Regions from separate parts of the Homo sapiens genome. Here regions 2, 3 and 4 are each linked to region 1. Evidence: promoter capture Hi-C in 16 types of primary human blood cells and fetal thymus (Javierre and others, 2016). All regions are on one chromosome and are shown on one strand. Each heading gives the region's core, a stretch centred on a gene start or on the middle of the fragment in contact. The rest is flanking DNA. Distances are from core to core; before and after follow the strand shown.

The links. Contacts are between HindIII fragments. The CHiCAGO score rates a contact against its expected background, and 5 or more counts as called.
Region 2: a contact is called between a fragment that was not itself captured here and the fragment with the promoter of NARS2-AS1 in region 1, in 1 of 17 cell types (naive CD4 T cells). The highest score is 5.0, in naive CD4 T cells.
Region 3: a fragment that was not itself captured here is called in contact with the fragment with the promoter of NARS2-AS1 in region 1 in 1 of 17 cell types (M2 macrophages); the score reaches 5.1 in M2 macrophages.
Region 4: a contact is called between a fragment that was not itself captured here and the fragment with the promoter of NARS2-AS1 in region 1, in 1 of 17 cell types (monocytes). The highest score is 5.9, in monocytes.

What each region holds. Positions count from the first base shown.
Region 1 is chr11:78,531,838-78,534,712 of GRCh38, reverse strand. NARS2-AS1 (NARS2 antisense RNA 1) reads right to left here and starts at 1,537. Exons shown (of 4, transcript NR_120566.1): 1 at 1,410-1,537. All of the region lies in intron 5 of NARS2 (asparaginyl-tRNA synthetase 2, mitochondrial), which reads left to right. The HindIII fragment of the contact is 6,934 bases long and covers 1-2,875 here.
Region 2 is chr11:78,112,772-78,115,563 of GRCh38, reverse strand. It overlaps ALG8 (ALG8 alpha-1,3-glucosyltransferase), which reads left to right. Exons shown (of 13, transcript NM_024079.5): 6 at 1,172-1,298; 7 at 1,575-1,678. Among named protein-coding and RNA genes, the nearest start is that of ALG8, 25 kb to the left of the region's middle. The HindIII fragment of the contact is 6,042 bases long and covers 1-2,792 here.
Region 3 is chr11:78,244,845-78,247,544 of GRCh38, reverse strand. The region is part of intron 3 of GAB2 (GRB2 associated binding protein 2); the gene reads left to right. Among named protein-coding and RNA genes, the nearest start is that of USP35, 57 kb to the right of the region's middle. The HindIII fragment of the contact is 3,122 bases long and covers 1-2,700 here.
Region 4 is chr11:78,205,699-78,208,398 of GRCh38, reverse strand. USP35 (ubiquitin specific peptidase 35) reads right to left here. Exons shown (of 11, transcript NM_020798.4): 7 at 2,364-2,557; 8 at 776-869. Among named protein-coding and RNA genes, the nearest start is that of USP35, 18 kb to the right of the region's middle. The HindIII fragment of the contact is 1,045 bases long and covers 872-1,916 here.

The sequences.
Region 1 (2,875 bases), core at 288-2,787:
CCAGTAATAAGAGAGACCGTGTCCCTTAGGAGCCCCAATATTTCTTAATTTGATGAGATAACACTGTGAAACAAAAGGTATTTAGTATGAATCTTTGATCTTAAGAGGTTTGAGAATTTGTGAATGTATCTGGAGGAGGTTACACTGACAAAGTTCTGATTTATTCACTCATTATCAGTCAGTCAGCAGCCTAAAGGAACTTACAGAACATTCCCCATGTTTCTTACTTTTTAGGTGTACCAACATTCCAAGAAATTCTGGCTCATAGATTCCTAAAAAAAATAACTGCTACTCAGTGTAATGGCTGAAGGTAGTAGTGTATGAACCATGTGATCCGTAGAAAATGATGCACAAAGCACACTAAAAAGCCAGTCAGTACCACTATGTACCTATTGAGCGGCCAACATCCATAACACTGACAACACCAAATGCTGACAAGGATGTGGAGCAGCAGATTTAACAGCCACTTTGCAGTATAGTTTGGCAGTTTCTTGCAAAACTAGATATACTCCAACCATAAGAACCAGCAGTTCTGCTCCTTGGTATTTACCCAAAGGAGTGGAAAACTTATATCCACACAAAAACGTGCACATGGATGTTTACAAAGCAGCTTTATTCATAATTGCCAAAACTTGGAAGCAACCAAGATGCCTTTTATTAGGTAAATGGAGAAATAAACTGTATCTGTTACATCCAGACAGTAAAATATTATTCAGCACTGAAAAAAAATGAGCTATCAAGCTATGAAAATACCTGGAGAAACTTTAAATGCAAATTACTAAGTCAAAGAGACCAATCTGAAAAGGCTACATATTGTATGATTTAAACTGTGTGACATTCTGGAAAAGACAAAACTATGGAGAAAGTAAAAAGATCATGGTTTCCAGGGGTTAGGGGAAAGGGAGGGATAACTAGGTGGAGCACATATTTTTAGGGCAGTGAAACTATTCTGTATGATACTGTAGTGGTGGATACATGTCAGTATGTATTTGTCCAAATCCTGTGGGACTGTTACATGTTATGAGTGATATGCTCTGACACTCCTGGGAGACTCCTTGGTTGCCTAAGGTGCCTTTCAGCCAGGAGGTACAGTTCCCCTTGTCTTTGGGACTTTTCTTGTGCTCATAAAGTCTTTTATAAACTTTGGTCACTCAAAAGGAAATTTTAAATGTGCCAAATTGAATGGAGCTTTAGATCTGGCCAGTTTAAGAAAATTTGCCTAAGCTGTAGACATTCACTTCCTCTTTTCAAAGAGAAACTGCTTTCTCCATGATAAAATTTCAAATGAGAGAAAAGGTTACAAACTGTAGTGAATAAGACAAGCAAGACTTTTTAATCTCAGAGAAAAGTGAAAAAATCACAAATATACACAAATAATGGAATAAGAGAATAACAAACTAAACGCCTACCTTAAAGTAGTGCTTCAATTCCAGTCTCATCAGTTGTTGAATCAGGTTCCATAAAGTCTGAATCTCAGTCAAGCCAGGGAGATTCAACCTTGAGAGTAGTCTGACCAAGGGCTTCTGCAGTCTTCAGCGAGGTCAGTTGGATGCAACGGTCCATGCTGGTGCTGGGGCTCCAGCTGTTGGCAAAACAGCAGGAGTCAATGAAGGCCTAATTTGGGTCCCATCTGGTTCACCAAAATGTCACCCTGAAATAATCAAGAGGCCCAGAATCCAATTTTAAAAGAGTTTGTTCAAGTGCAAAATTTGAGACTGGCCACCCAGAAAAAACAAGACTCCAGAGTAGTTGGGTCATTGCTGAGAAGTGGAGAAGCTGAGGCTTCACTTATATAAGTAGAAGCAAAGAAGTTTACAAGTATTACCACATTTTTAATACAATGCTGATTTATGAGTTACAGCAGTTTGATTGGTTACAGCTTATTCTTTTTCAGGAAAGATATATTTAAAATTGCATCCCTATCAATTTGGTAGTCATGGGGCCTTTCGCCATCTGGTCTGAGCTGGGTACATGAAAAAGGAAGGATGTTAATCTATAACAAAGAATTAGTAACTAAGAGGTAAGGGGCACCATTTAATCTTTCACAACGTTTTACAGGGCAAGAAAAATAAGAAAGAAGGTTAATCTGTAATAGGAAGAAACAAAAGTTGTAGTGACTTGCCCGTATGAGCTAGGTCTTACAATCAATCACATTTTATTCAAGGCTCAGAGTAATTTAAAGTTTCAGCAGCTTTCATTTAAATTATTTTCACATTAGCCATTTGAGTCTTCATTTCTGTATATCTTCTTTCTCATTTGGGGAGCAGATTATTTTCTCTTTTTTTGTTTTCTTGGCAGGAGTTCCTTATATATTCTGTCCATTAATCACTTGGCGGTTTTAGATGTTGCAAATATTTCATTCATAATCTGTCATTTGTCTGTTAACTTTGCCTATATCTTCCTTTATTAAATAGAAATTCTTAATTTTAACATATATAAATTCATCAGTTTTTCCTTTTATCGTTGGCAATTTGGAGCTTTTGTTAAAGAAATCCTTCCCCACTGATAAAGTCACAAAGTTGGGTGTTTAATTCATATATTGTATTGTTTCTTTATCACTACCATAAGTACGTAAGATTACAAATTTAAGATTACAATCCTAAATCTTAAATTTGCAATCCTAGGTTGGTAGTTTTTGAAGCTACTAAGATTCAATAATTACTTTCAAGAATTGAGGTGAAATTTATGTCATAAAATTAAGCATTTTAAAAGGTACATTTCAGTGGCATTTAGTACATTCATAGTATTTTACAACTGCCACCTCTGTTAAGTTCCAAACATTTTTACCACCCCAGAAGAAAACCCTGTGCCCATTTAGTAGTTACATCCCATTTTCCCCTCTACACAAACCATGACTCTCATCCATCTGTCTCTA
Region 2 (2,792 bases), core at 293-2,792, 420 kb after region 1:
AAAATACAAAAAAATTAGCCAGGCGTGGTGGTGGGCACTTGTAATCCCAGCTACTTGGGAGGCTGAGGCAGGAGAATTACTTGAACCCGGAAAGTGGAGGTTGCAGTAAACGAGACCGTGCCATTGCACTCCAGCCTGGGCAACAAGAACAAAACTCCGTCTCAAAAAAAAAGCTAGCTGGAATCACTTGCCTATGTTTTCCTTATACTGGTTATAGAATATTTACCTTGGGCCAAGCATGGCGGTTCACGCCTGTAATCCCAGCACTTTGGGAGGCCGAGGCAGGTGGATCACCTGAGGTCAGGAGTTTGAGACCAGCCTGGCCAACATGGTGAAACCCTGTCTCTACTAAAAAATACAAAAATTAGCCGGGTGTGTTGGCACACGCCTGTAGTCCCAGCTACTCGGGAGGCTGAGACAGGAGAATTGCTTGAACCGAGGAGGCGGAGGCTGCAGTGAGTCAGGATTGTGCCACTGCACTTCAGCCTGGGTAAGACAGAGGGAGACTCCATCTCAAATAAAATAAAATAAAATAAAAATTTAAAAAAGTAGGTATTGTTTATTTTTGTTATTTATTTATTCATTTTGGAGACAGGGTCTCACTCTGTCACCCAAGTTGGAGTGCAGTGTCGTCATCATGGCTCATTGCAGCCTCCACCTCCTGGGCTAAAGCAGATTCTCTCACCTCAGCCTCCAGAGTAGCTGGTGCTACAGGTGCAAGCCATCACGCCTAGCTAATTTTTTTTATTTTTTATTTTTTTGTAGAGACAGGGCCTCCCTATTTTGTCCAGGCTGGTCTTGAACTCCTGGGGTCAAGCAATCCTTCCACGTCGGCTTACCAAAGTGCTGGGATTGCAGGTGTGAGTCACCACACTTAGCCTAATTTTAGTTTTTTAAATAACCTTTTTGTAGGATAATTTTAGCTTTCCAGAAAAGTTGTAGAAATAGTACAGAGAGTTCCTATATATCCCTCACCCATTTTCCCCCATTACCACCTTACATAACCATGGTACATTCATCAAGACTAAGAAAGCAATATTGATGCATTTGAATTTCACCCGTTTTTCCTTTAATGTCCTTGTTCTGTTCCAGGATTCAATCTAGAATACCACATTATTGCATTTCATTTACCCTGAATTTTAAAGTGATATTTCCCTTTTAAATCTCCTAGAAAAGGCATATGGAAGGAGCATTTCTCTTTGCTGTTCTCCTACATTTCAAGCATATCTACCTCTATGTAGCACCAGCTTATGGTGTATATCTGCTGCGATCCTACTGTTTCACTGCAAATAAACCAGGCAAGTTTTGGTAATAATAGCAAAAACATTTTCGATTTTTCCCTTACTGTGTTGACTTGGTGGCTTGCTTGATAAGAAGGTTTTATGAAGCACAGCAGATATCTCAGCTGCTAATCCTGTAAGCCCTTTACCCATTCTCGCTTTTCTCTGCTCTTGCCACATCATGAATAGATTGGTATACTATTGTGGGATACTTCTAGTTTTAGCACATGATATAGGTTATGGTTAATGTTCCTTTCCATCTTCCTGGTTACTGATAATGTTCCTTTTCTGTAGATGGGTCTATTCGATGGAAGAGTTTCAGCTTTGTTCGTGTTATTTCCCTGGGACTGGTTGTTTTCTTAGTTTCTGCTCTTTCATTGGGTCCTTTCCTGGCCTTGGTAAGCCTTTTTTTTTTTTTTTTTCAATTAATACATGTTCTTTGTTGGTGTTTAGAAAACCTAATAAAGCCAGGAATATGTAAAATAAGTAAAAGCTACTTTTTTCTTACTCCTTACCCAACGTGACTCCCCAAAGATAGGGCAGTATTCCTTTTTTTTTTTTGTTTTTGTTTAAGATGGAGTCTCACTGTGTCGCCCAGGCTGGAATGCAGTGGCGTGATCTCGGCTCACTGCAACCTCCACCTCCTGGATTCAAGCGATTCTCCTGTCTCAGCCTCCTGAGTAGGTGGGATTACAGGCACATGCCACCATGCCTGGCTAATTTTTGTATTTTTAGTAGAGACAGGGTTTCAACATGTTGGTCAGGCTGGACTCGAACTTCTGACCTCAGGTGATCCACCTGCCTCAGCCTCCCAACGTGCTGGGATTAAAGGCATGAGCCACCGCTCTTGGCCCGATAAGGTAGTATTCTTTCAGACATTTTTGTGCACATTCAAATATGTATATATATATACATGTATATGTTTAACTGTACATTACACATACACAAACACAGAATTGATCTTCATTATTTGTGTATTCTGTACTTGTAAGTTTACTTACTTGATAAAATGTATTTGTAACAAAATCAATAATTTTGCAGTCTTACATGGACAGCAGACATTCTAAAGTGCATAGAATTTAACAGATGTTCAGATGTTTTCTTTCTTCCTCTTCTTCCCTGCCCTGAAATCAACTAATTAATTTTAATTCTTACTAAAACTGAAACGCGTCACATCTTTTGTAGTTTCCCAGCTCTCCCCTTCACCCTAGTAGACATGGATAAGCTGCAGTCTGTGTTCTGCTTTGTAGCTTGTAAATTCTTCTGTTATTATAATAGTATGGACGGGTATTCAGAGTATTTTTATGTATATTGTCCCACTGGACAGTGGACAAAGTGAGACCAAAAGAAGGTTCTGTGAACTTACATTGTGGTGAGCATATAACCACTTACTTACTAGAACCCAGACCCCATAACTTTCTACACACTATACCATAGAGAGTTCCCTAGTTCTCTTTTTGAATTTGAAAAAGATTGATGACTGTTTAATCAGTTTCATTTCTCTTTTCAACA
Region 3 (2,700 bases), core at 49-2,548, 290 kb after region 1:
ATGAAGAAACCGTATACATTAACCCATAGTTGAGAGAACTCAGTATCTAGAAAGAGATCAAAATAAACCCATATTTTGGACCCAGCCTACAAGACTTTAAAATAATTATGTTAATTTTTTAATCTATTGTGGGTAAAGGATATAATAGGTGAAGAGATGGTGGATTTTAGGATGGATGTAGAAACCGAAAAAGAATTGGGTAGTTCCAGTTCCACTATGGTGGTGGAAGCCACCACAGGCTTTCCTTCCCACTGATTACAACTAAAAACTCTGGACAAAATCCAAAGTGCAATACCCAAAGACTCTGAAAAATAAATAAAAGGAGATAGATTGTAAAGAGGAGAAGAACTTGTAGAAGTGACTACACAGAGATGAACTTTTTGTCTTTCATGCATTTGCCTCCAGGTTGGGCCCCATCACAAAGTAGCACAGTGCAAATGGCTAAAATGTCATAAAAAACCCCATCTTTCTGAGTAGGGGAACCAGAAGAGGAGCCCCATTGGGGCTGGAAGGAGCTAGTATATTCCAGAATGAAGAGAGCTGGAGAAGGGATCTTCTAACTCTGGGAATGAAACTATGTGAGTCTTAGGATCACCTTGGGCTACACATGTGTGGGACAAACCGAATCGAGTGCAACAAAGCCTATGTGAACTGAAAGAAGATTTGAACTACCATACACAGGAGGAGAGACAGAACTTGCAGTCTGAGCCTAACCAGGTTGATTTCCTATAAAAATATCACTTCTCGGCCGGGTGCGGTGGCTCACGCCTATAATTCTAGCACTTTGGGAGGCTGAGGTGGGCAGATCACCTGAGGTCAGGAGTTGAAGATCAGACTGGCCAACATGGTGAAACCCCATCTCTACTAAAAATACAAAAATTAGCTGGGCTTGGTAGTGGGCCCCTGTAATCCCAGCTACTCAGGTGGCTGAGGCAGGAGAATCGCTTGAAGCCAGGAGGTGGAGGTTGCAGTGGGCCGAGATCACGCCACTGCACTCCAGCCTGGGCAACTGAGTGAGACCCTGTCTCAAAACAAACAAACAAAAAAATAGCACTTCTCCATGGGATTATAACAGAACCCAGCATCTACACAACATCATGTTCACAGCATTCAGGATCTGTAATCCAAAATGTCTCAGCATATTGAAAACCAGAAAAATATAACCCATTCTCAATGGAAGTCACAGGTACAAACCTCAAAATAACCCAGATGTTGGAATTATCAGACACAGATTTCAAAGCTCCTGTGAAAACAACATTCCATGTAATAAAGGAAAACACACTTGAAACTAATGGAAAGAAAAAACCCTCTGCCACCGGACACTGTGGCTCACACCTGTAATCCCAGCACTTTGGGAGCCCGAGGCAGGTGAGTCATCTGAGGTCAGGAGTTCGAGACCAGCCTGGCCAACATGGTGAAACCCCGTCTCTACTAAAAATACAAAAAAATTAGCCAGGCATGGTGGTGGGCGCCTGTAATCCCAGCTACTTGGGAGGCTGAGGCAGGAGAATCGCTTGAACCCTGGAGGCGGAGGTTGCGCCATTGCACTCCAGCCTGGGCGAGAAGAGCAAAACTCCGTCTCAAAAAAAAAAAAGAAAAAAAGAAAATAAAAAAACCCTCTGCCAACCAAGGAGTTTATATTCGGCAAAAGTATCCTTTGGGAATGTAAACAAAATTAAGACGTTCTCAGATAAAGGAAAAATAAGAGCATTTCCAAGAGATCTGCTTTTAAAAACTGATAAGAAATTTCCTCAGGCTGAAGCAAGATGGTACTAGAAGGAAACTTGAATTTTCAGGAATGAAGGAAGAGCAACAGAAATAGTAAATCCCTGCATAACTGTGAAAGATTATTTTTCCGTTTTAACTTCTTTAAAATATGTATAAGTGTTAGAAGCAAAACTCAAACAATGTCTAGTGAGGTTTTCACCTGGTTTTCTTACTCTTTAGTATGAAGAGCTCCCTTTGCCATTTCTTGCCATGTGAGTGGCCTGGTGAGAAATTTTCCCAGCTTTCATTTATCTGGAAATTTCTTAATTTCACCTTCAGTTTTGAGAGAGATTTTGCTAGGTATAGAATTCCAGAATGACAGTTCTGTTTTCTTTCAGCATTTAAAGGATACCATTCTAGTCTTCTGACCTTCATTGTTTCTGATGAGAGATCAGCAGTTATTTTAATTTTTATTATTCTATATGTATTTTCCTTCCTCTGAATGATTTTTTCTTTTCAAAAATTGTAGTAAATACATAGCATAAATATATCATCTTAACCATTTTTAAGTGCACAGTTCAGTAAAGTACATTCATATTGTTATATAATCAATCTCCAGAAATCTTTTCATCTTACCAAACTGAAATTCTAACCATTCAACAACTCCCCATTTCCCCTTCCCTCAGGCCCTGAAAACCACCATTCTACTTTCTGTCTGTGTGAGTCTGACTTCTCTAGATGCCTCATATACATGGACTCATACTACATTTTCTTTATCCATTTATCTGTTGATGACCACTTAGGTTGATTCCATTATCTTGGCTATCGTGACTAATGATGCAATAAACATAGGGGTGCAAATAGCTCTTTAACATACTGATTTCCTTTCCTTCAGATATATACCCAGTAATGGGATTGCTGGATCATAAGGTAGTTCTATTGTTAGTTTTTTGAGGAACTTTCATACTGTTTTCCATAACGACTGTACTAATT
Region 4 (2,700 bases), core at 145-2,644, 330 kb after region 1:
CATGAGGGCAGAGATGGTGTTTGTTCTGTTCACCTCTGTACCCTCAACAGCTCTCAGGCTGCCTGGCCATGTGGGTACTCAAAAATAACAGCAGAATGAAGCAACATGCTGTGGTGTGACTGTGTCCTCCAAAAAGCATGTGTTGGAAACATAATCCCCAGTGCAGCAGTGTTAAGAGATGGGACCTTCAAGAGAGGATGAGGTCCTGAGCACTCTGCCCTCAGGAATGTATTATTTCCTTATCACAGGCCGTTTGCTTTCCCCAGCAGCCACAAATGGAGACAGGAGCAGGTTCCTGATAAAAGGGTGAGTTCATCCCGCTTTCCCTTCTCTCATGCATGCTCTCACACCCTGTGATGCCTTCTACCCACATTATAATGCAGCAAGAAGGCCGTCACCAGACACAGCCCCTCGATCTTGGGCCTCCCAGCTTCCAAAACTGAGAAATAAATTTCTTCATAAATCACCAAGCCTCGAGTATTTGGTTTTAGCAGCATAAAATGGACTATGGCAACACCATAATGCGATGGATGGACTGAATTGCCAAAGGGAAAGATTGGGCAGCACAACACGGAACAGGGCTCAAGGGGGCCCGCCTTCTCCTGCCCCAGCAGGGCACTAAATCAGTTCCATATGCCAGCCCGGCCAGGGGCTCAGCAACTGACATGGGAGATGACAGCCAGATGCAGGCAGGTCCTGGGGAAGGGAAAGGTGTCCATGTCGGGGCCTGACCAGAGCTGCCTCTCCACCCCCCTCTGACTGCCCCTACACTCACCTGGCTGTGTTCTAGGAAGCCAAAGAGCCACTGCAGCTTGGTCATCAGGGGCTGTGAGTTGTTCTCAGTCAAGCGGAGCACACAATGTCTGAAGCTTCAAAACAAAGCAGGGGCACCCAGGGTAAGCCATGGGCCCCCAAGGAGTCTCTAGTCACCCATGTCACAGGCAGCCCAGAGCCTCTAGGCCAAAGGCAGAACAGACATTTCTGCCCCAAGACGGAGCCAGAAGCCAGGGGCTGGGGAGGAGGAGCAGGTGAACAACTCAGCCTGGGGTATCTGAGGTCAGGAACACAACAATAGACATGTTTTAGACAATGAAGGGTACAAAGGTGACCCTTGTAGCCCCTTCCAGCTCTGAGACCTACGTTCAGGACTTAAAGATTCAAACGTCCTAAGGTCCTGTGGTCCCAGGATTCTAGGGTTAGGACATGCCACAGGATCCATGCCAATATCATCCCAGCCGCAGCAGCCCCTCGCACACCCTTATTAGCTGCTTCCCTGGGGAAAGGCATTCATCCACCTCCAGAGCAGCAGACTCTGCTCTGACCTGGGCCCTCCAATCGACTCCTACAGCCCCTGTCAGGGCCCTGGCCCCTGCCCCTAGAGCAATCTCAAGCTGTTCCCCTGCCTTCCAATGAGGGAGGCAGAGGTCAATGTGAGGAATACGCTAAACGAAGAGGACCCTTTAGGGATGGGTAGACTGGCTCCTAGTGGGAAGGGTCTGATCCTATAGGAGATAGCTCCCCTCCCTACACGAACATTCTCTGGAGCAAGCCAATTCCCAGGCCCCAGCTTATCTCCTGTTCTCACAAGCAGCTCTGGGTCTCAGAACAAGGTAAGTTCAGAAGCTGAGCGAGCACTTAGAAACATACACAGCATTTTAACATCACAACCACCATACAAGCACGTGACCGTTTTTCTAGTAAGTCGTTTTGTTATATTTTACAAAAGTAATATTCTGCAGCAGACTGGAATTAGAAAAGAAAAACAAAACTAGTCCTTCACTAGGCGTTTTGAGAAGAACGTGCACCAGCAGCACCTTAGAAAGACTTGGAGATCAGCTCCAATCTCCTCCCACTGAACCTGACGCTCAGAGAAAAGAAACTGACTTGAGGACATACGATAAGCCAGAATCAAAGCTTATTTTCACTGAATCAAAGCTGAAACTTTGATCTTTTAAGTAAGCCATAAGGTAGATAGGTGGCCATAGACTATAAAGATTGTGTTTGTTTCATTTTAAAAGAGAGAGATGTCTAATACCAGGATGGGTGGCAGTTCTACTCTGGAAGACAAAATCCACCCCCACAGACTCTAGAAGAAAAGTCAGTGATGTCAGCCAACCCAGAGCAGACCCCACTTCCCAGGGCTGCCCAGCCCCTTAAGCCCCTTCTTGAGTTCCCATCCAGTCCTGACCTGCCTTGGCAATGGCCTGAGGCTCTCTGTCCCCACAGACCTCAGGGAATCATGCTGGCAATGCAAAGCAAGGCCCACCCTCTCCAACCCCCACCCCGGACACCTTTCCACCTGTCATCAGGGAGCCCAGAGGAGAGAAGCAAGGGCAGACAGGGAATTCCAAAGCAGCACCTACTCAGACGCCATGAATAAGGCCTGAAGGATGCTGTTGACATAGCATGTGTTGCCCAGGTTGATGAGACCAATCTTGCCCGTGTCTGACTTGGCCATGAGCCGGGGATAGAAACCCGCCAGCTCGCTCTTCTGCGAAGTCCAGGCATCCTGCCCCAGCAGCTGCTTGATGCGGTCCTCATTGGGAACATGGAGGTCCTGAGGAGGGAATAAGCAGGCAGGCAGGATGGTGGGCACCAGGGTCAGCTCAAAAAACTACCACCTCTTCTGGGAGGCCTTCTCAGATACAGCCAACCCCAAGGCCTCCCAGGCACACCCCCCCACAGATGTTCTGGGGTGTG